Regions from separate parts of the Homo sapiens genome. Here region 2 is linked to region 1. The links are contacts of gene promoters, found by promoter capture Hi-C in human tissues and cell types (Jung and others, 2019). All regions are on one chromosome and are shown on one strand. Each heading gives the region's core, a stretch centred on a gene start or on the middle of the fragment in contact. The rest is flanking DNA. Distances are from core to core; before and after follow the strand shown.

The links. The method cuts DNA at HindIII sites, captures the fragments that hold promoters and counts their contacts. A contact is called where the count stands out against the background at its distance.
Region 2: a fragment that was not itself captured here is called in contact with the fragment with the promoter of SLC13A4 in region 1 in 1 of the 25 tissues and cell types used here (dorsolateral prefrontal cortex).

What each region holds. Positions count from the first base shown.
Region 1 is chr7:135,726,620-135,729,929 of GRCh38, reverse strand. SLC13A4 (solute carrier family 13 member 4) reads left to right here and starts at 1,744. Exons shown (of 16, transcript NM_001318192.2): 1 at 1,744-2,532. The coding sequence starts at 2,434. It overlaps FAM180A (family with sequence similarity 180 member A), which reads left to right. Exons shown (of 4, transcript NM_205855.4): 4 at 1-338. The HindIII fragment of the contact is 3,336 bases long and covers 1-1,774 here.
Region 2 is chr7:136,066,762-136,070,071 of GRCh38, reverse strand. It overlaps a transcript of LOC105375523 not described here. Among named protein-coding and RNA genes, the nearest start is that of MTPN, 91 kb to the right of the region's middle. The HindIII fragment of the contact is 4,318 bases long and covers 1-3,310 here.

The DNA of each region.
Region 1 (3,310 bases), core at 495-2,994:
AACAGACCCCCGGAACTTTCTCATCTTGTAATTCTGAAGTTCTATACCCACCGAACAACTCCTCTTTTCCCCTTCCCCCTGCCTGCCCCAGCTCTTGGCACCATTATTCTGCTTTCTGTTTTTGAGAGTCTGACTACTTAAGATACCTCATACAAGCGGGATCTGGCTTACATTTCTTGAGCATTGTATTCTGGAAAAGTGTTTCCTTCCTCTGAAAAATGGGTAGAGTTCTGAAGGAGAACTACTGGTCTTATTGTACACTTGCTGTACCTATTTTTATTTAACAAATATTCATCTATGGTATAATAAAGATGTCATGATTGAGTTGCTCACTGGAATCTTTGTTATCTCAGAGTATCTCACCGAGGAATTTGGAATGGTTCATGGGTTTAACAGTGGATGTTGACTTCCACAGCTGCTTATAATTATTCGCTGTCTTTAATGTTTGCGACCAAAACATCACACACGTGGTATTGTTCATTCTGAGTTTCAAAATCATAACCAAAAAAAAATGAGGCCAGAATGTAGTAAATACAGTAGCCAGTCTTTAACATGCATTTAAAGAGTTGAGTCATCCTAGCCCATCCTACGATGGCAAGATAATTTCAAAGGGGACCTCAGCTGTCCACAGTTGCACCTGCCTTAAAAGTCAAGAAGAATTTGTTTTTTGGGTCACTTCCCTGGTCACTTTAGCCTGGGGATCATTTCCAAGTAGTATAGTTGCAGATCTTCGAACGCCATTCCTGTGTTCTGTGAATTCAAGACAACATGGGTTTTATAACCCTTTGACTCTGCTCAGCATCTCCCAGATCAAGGTAAGGTAATGTTGCCAAGAACCACTACTTACAGAATGTTTGGGCTTTTGCTTTTGCTTTTCTTCCTTGCCCCAAATCCACATGTCCGTTCTGAGAAAAGAAGCTAACAACTTCTTCCAATCTGTAAACAGGAGAAATTCCAGAGTTCAACTGCAGCTAAGACCTTGTCCCTGAACTTGTCAACTTCTTCCCTGCCCTCCCACCTCCTCCTTTCGTACCAGCCAAAGAAGGTCTTCGGTTTCCTTTTTGGAGAGCCCCAGAGAGAAGCATTTGAGCACCTACTTTAGCCAGAGAGACCACTGACATCTGGGCATGAGACTGGCATCTAGACTTTGCCAGGGAGGCAGCTATACTTCCCAAAAGATCTGGGGTCTTTCTCACGAGCTCATACCCTCTGCTGGCCTAGACCCTTTATATTCCCCCCTCGGTGCTGAGGCAAACGATCTTTGCCAGCAGGGAGGTCTGAAAGGCTTAACTTTGTACACTCTGAGGCAAATTCTCCAGAAGTAATGTTGCATTTTCTCCCTGCCACCAGGCACATTCCCTTCCCAAGGTCTAGATCAGCAGGTGGCCCTCCCAGCGAAAGCTCTGTGTCCTATGATCCGAAACAATAAAGCTGTGCTTGGGTACGTGAGATTATGTTTACGATGATGGTCATCACTCCAGCCCTAGGAAGTTTGAGAAACTGAAAAATAAGCTTAGCAGGCTGCCTAGGTTCTGCGGAATCAGCAGGCCCCCGCTGTGACCAATCAAGAGCGGCCGCGGGGAGAGAAATTGACTCATTCTTTTCAATTTGCTGATTGGCTTTGAGAAGTGGGCGGAGCTACTGTCTCTGTCCCGGCTTCCCATTGGTGGATGAAAGTTAAAGGTGGGCCTCCAGCAAGTTTTGTCCTTTGATAAAAAGGAATGTCTTGGGGACTTTTCTTTTCTGCTTTGCAGGCCCAGGCTCAAGGCAAATTATAAGTAGGGAACCAATTTGAGGGAAAGACATGTGAACAGAGTTAAGGTACCACGTCCTGGGAGCGACCAGCAGCCCCACCTGAAGTCCGCATGCAACTCTGACAAGCTCAGGTGCTTGTTTTAAGGAAAGGGGCTACTAGAGTCTTACCAACAGCGAGCCCAGGTGGGAGATGAAACAGGTACTCCCCAAAATAGGTCATCCGAGGGAGGAAAACTGATGGAGAGCACAATGTGCTCTGAGCGTTTTTAATGTTTTTAAGCTTTTAAATGATTTCTTCAAGGCCGAGCAGCAGCAGCAAAGGTGTGGCTTAAAGGATTAAGGGGGTTTCTGCTGACACCTAGAATGAAGTTACTCTATTACTAATCAAGCCGAGAGGAGGCCCACTATGCCCCCGTTTATCATCCTTTCCCAGTTCCTTTTTGCTGGTCACAAAACGATGCTCATCAATCCCACCTAAAGCAGGAGGCCAGGAGCCCAGCCTCTTGTAGAAACAGCGAGGGTATAACTGCCCTCCCGTTCTGCCCCCAAGACGAAGGAGGACTCTCGGAAGCCAAGAAAGGTTTAAGAAGTCTTTCTGGATAGAGAGCAGTGCCCAGGCAGGAAGCCTTTCGCCGGCAGAGCGGGGTCCAAGGACGAGCTGGAGAGGACAGAGGCGCGATGGGCCTGCTGCAGGGCCTGCTCCGAGTCCGGAAGCTGCTGCTGGTCGTCTGCGTCCCGCTCCTGCTGCTGCCTCTGCCCGTCCTCCACCCCAGCAGCGTGAGTACCGACCTGCGCCCACCGGGGGTCTGGGAGTCAGTGGGAGGGCAAAGAGGGGAGGTCGGTAGGGGAACATGGGGCGCTCAGGCAGTCCCTCAAAGTGGCTTGTGGTGGGTTTAAAGAAATGGAAGGATTTTTCCAGAGGAAACCAAGATATCTTCTTCCTAAAAGCTGTCATGTTCATCTCCTATCCCAGTCCCATTCCCCCAACCCCATGGCCCCCACCGGGGTCAGGACAGAGTAGGGGCCTTGGCAGAAGTGACTGATGGGTGTTGCACCAAGCAGCAGGCCAGCCTGCCCCAGCAGCGGGGGCCAGCGACACCCATGCAAACGACATGGTGCACCTGTGTTTGTCGGGAGTTCACCTGGGACCCTGGTTATCTGAGAGCCCCTGGAGACACAGAAAGAGCTCCCAATAGTGGCACTGAGGAGAAGGTTGGGGGAGGAAGAGAACCGTGGAGCCAATCCGTGGTCTGTGGTCGTGTCCTGGTGGGCTTCGATGACCACAGTTGAAGCTCTAATCCCGAAGGCGCCTATCAACTTCAGGGAATGAATGTTTAGGGAAGGAATGAAAGCAGAACTTAGCAGGCTGCCCTGCTCCCATGCACGTGGCCTTGAATTATTTGTGTCTTCTGTGTTTTCTTCTCTGTCCTCTTGAAGGACAGACAAAAAGTGACACGATAAAAAAGAGATAAGAGCCCCCAAACTCTAGCCCGTGACCTCATTCTTCACCTGGTTTGTGAGAACAGAGGAACCTCAGCTCTGGCTCAGCATCCAG
Region 2 (3,310 bases), core at 509-3,008, 340 kb before region 1:
GCAATTATTATTCAATATTTATGCAAATATTATTCAATATTATGCAATTATTGAATCTTGCATAATAAGTCAAAATAATGATGATAAAATTAAAATCAACTTATAGGATAAACCTGTGGGAGAGAAGTCCCTAAAGTAAGAACATCAAACTAATATTTAGAATCTGCATATTTTACAGAGCATATGCCAGCAGAGACATCCATTATTTTCCTGTATCTAGTCACAGCTTACAATTGAGTTTCTTGCAATAGAATGAAAAGAGAAGGTCATAGCATCTTAAACACAGTATTGAGCCAAATCTAAAATGACCTCAAATTGATGGCAAATAGAAGTACAAGTTAATTTCATCATATTGCTCTATTCTTTCATAAAAACAATCTGAAATAGGCAATAGAAGTGGAATTTGATCGGGGATGATGCTGTGTGCTGAAAGAGAGGTCGGGTCAGGATTAGGGAGGAGAAGGAAAGGATGCAGTCAGCCAGAAAGCATCCTGGGAACAATGGGTGCTGAGAACCAAGAGGAAAGCAAATACTAAAGATCAGCTCTCCTCAATTCTCCTTTGAGGATTTTGAATCCTCGAAGTTATAAAACTAGTGATATTTAGTTTTATTTCCATTTGTTTGGGATATACTATCATTGGCCCAATTTTCCCTCAAACAGCAGGGAATGAGAGATACAGCTGGGACAGGATAGCTACTACTTCTATCTCCTTTCCAACCTTGGTATGATTGGTCATCATACAGCTTCCTAAGGTGATTAGACCCTGAACTTAGCAAAACTAGCCACAAACAGGTATCTTTTTCCCTCGATCTTATTTTCAGAAGCTACTGGAAATGACCAACACAAGAGCAAATGTTTCTCTCAGCATGAAGACATGTTCATAGATTTTAGATTTTTTTCAATCACTGGAAAAGCTGTGCCTACCAACAATTTATGGCAAAAAAAGATTCTGAATAGGTATGCCCTTTGAGAAACTCTTGTCAGGAATGATCCACACTTTGACTCTCAACTCTTCCTTCCAAACATCCAGGATCCTATGTGGATTCTCAATTCAATGCTCTTAATGACCCAGGACTAGTTTCTTCTTGAAGAATCTGCTTGGTTCAGTTTAGGTTGGGTCATGGACTATCCCTAGATATATAGGAAGCAGCCCAGATGGTGTATATACTGGTGTCCAGTTGCATTTCTCAGAGAAGGAGGAGTTGTTATAAGCTGGGGATGATCAGACAGTAGGTAACTGCCTCAGTCCTTGAGATTTTGTGGTGCCCCTAGCTATTCTGGTCCTGCTAACCCCTGATACAGCCTCTATGATATTCCTACATAGTTCTACTACCCCACCACTGCAGTGCTGGCTGTGAAATGACAAGCCAGAAAACCCACACATGACTGTAGTTTCTCTATCAACAAGAGACTGTCAATTCACTGATGAGAAAACATTTCATTAAAAATAATTCTTTCTATATACAGATCACTTGACAGTTCACAAATCACTTTCATGGGTTATATGACAGAACCCTCACAACAACCTTAGGAGATAGAAAATGTAACTTTTATCTCCCTTATAAAAGCAAGCAAACTCAGAAATGCTACTTGACTTGTTTCCAATTACAGAATTAATACATAATAGAGACAGAACTTGAGCTCAGGACTCCAGACTCCAAGGCTGAACATGCTTTCCAAGGTGCCACGGGGCCTCTCACTTCAGCAATGAAGAAAAGCAAATCTGGAAGCCCAGCACACACCACCTGGGATGCTTACAGACTGCATACAACACAATACTGCAAATCGGTGGGGACTCAATAAGGCCAGAATCCCACCATTGGCCTACCTTCTAGACTTGGGTTTACTAAAGGATAACCTTTGGTTCAGCAGACTCCTCCGCATTCGAAGTGGTATGTCAGTCATACAATGAGGTCTAAAACAGCAAATTTCTAACCCACAACTTATTAGAATCCTTTATCAAGTATTATTAAAATACCGATTCCTAGACCTAGACCTCCTAATTCAGAGTCTCTAGATATATAGCCTGGGAATATGGACTTTTTAAAAAGCTCTAAAGGAGCTATTGATCAAACTGAAGGTTGTGATCCACTTTTCTTAAATACAATCAACTCTGCATATCGATTATACTCCTAAAATAACTACCAATTAAAGGGAGGGGAGATTCAAGGCTTACTGGATATGGCAGTAATAGGCTTAATGTTGTTGTAATAAAAAATTTTCAGTTTTCATAGCCAGAGTTCTTCCTACTTCTAAGAACTATAATTATTCTCCCTCTTGGAAAAGTCATGTTAAGAGGGAGTCATTCTCCTCTACCTTCTGCTATGCTTATGACTGAGGCAGTGCTCATTAAAAGATAAGTAAACAATTTGCCTGGCTTAGAAACAACCTGAAATAGTAATAATAGAAATTTCTGCAAATGCAAGGAGGCAGAGTTGCTTGGAAGACCCAGGTCCAGAAGTAGCCCTGGGGAACATACTTTTATCAGCAAATACTTCAAGCCATCTGCATATGTAACAAACCAAAGCAGGAAAAAAAGAAAAAAGGAACCCCTGTAACTAGTGCTAACCTTCAACTAACCCCTATAGACATACATTAATCAGACTTTTCATCTACTTACAGATATCGTCAAAGAACAGACACTATTTTGTGTAACTGACCATGACTCTGTGTTGGCCACTCTAAATTTTAGGTCTCAATTTAGACTGTACTCCTAGCAAAATGTTAGAAGTTTTTAAAACATCCATTGGTTCATTCAGTTTACTAATCTCACTCTGGCTTCATCTTATTTTTTTCAATCTTTTATTCAATTGCTTGACCTACTTATATTTAATTATATTTTATCTTGTTACATGCTATATATTTTTATAAGTTGCCCCACATCCTTTTAAGAAACAAGGAAAAAGGGGAAAGAACGATGAGAAAGAGGAAGAGAAAGGGGGTGGGGAGAAGGTAGGAGGGAAAGAATGAGAGAGAATATTCTAGAGCAGGGGTCCCTAACCCCCAAGCCATGGACCACTACCAGTTCGTGGCCTGTTAGGAACCGGGCCTCCCAGCAGAAGGTGAGCAGCAGTCAAACATTACCGCCGGGGCTCCCTCCCGTCAGATTAGCGGTGGCATTCGATTCTCATAGGAGCGAGAATGTGCATGCGAGGGATCTAGGTTGCGCGCTCCTTATGAGAATCTCATGGCTCTGAAACAATCCCCCTGACCCCGTGCGTGGAAAAATTGTCTTCCATGAAACTAGTCCCTCGTGCCAAAAAGGTTGAGGACTTCTGTTCTAGAGCAGCTGCAGCCCCAAAATCTCCA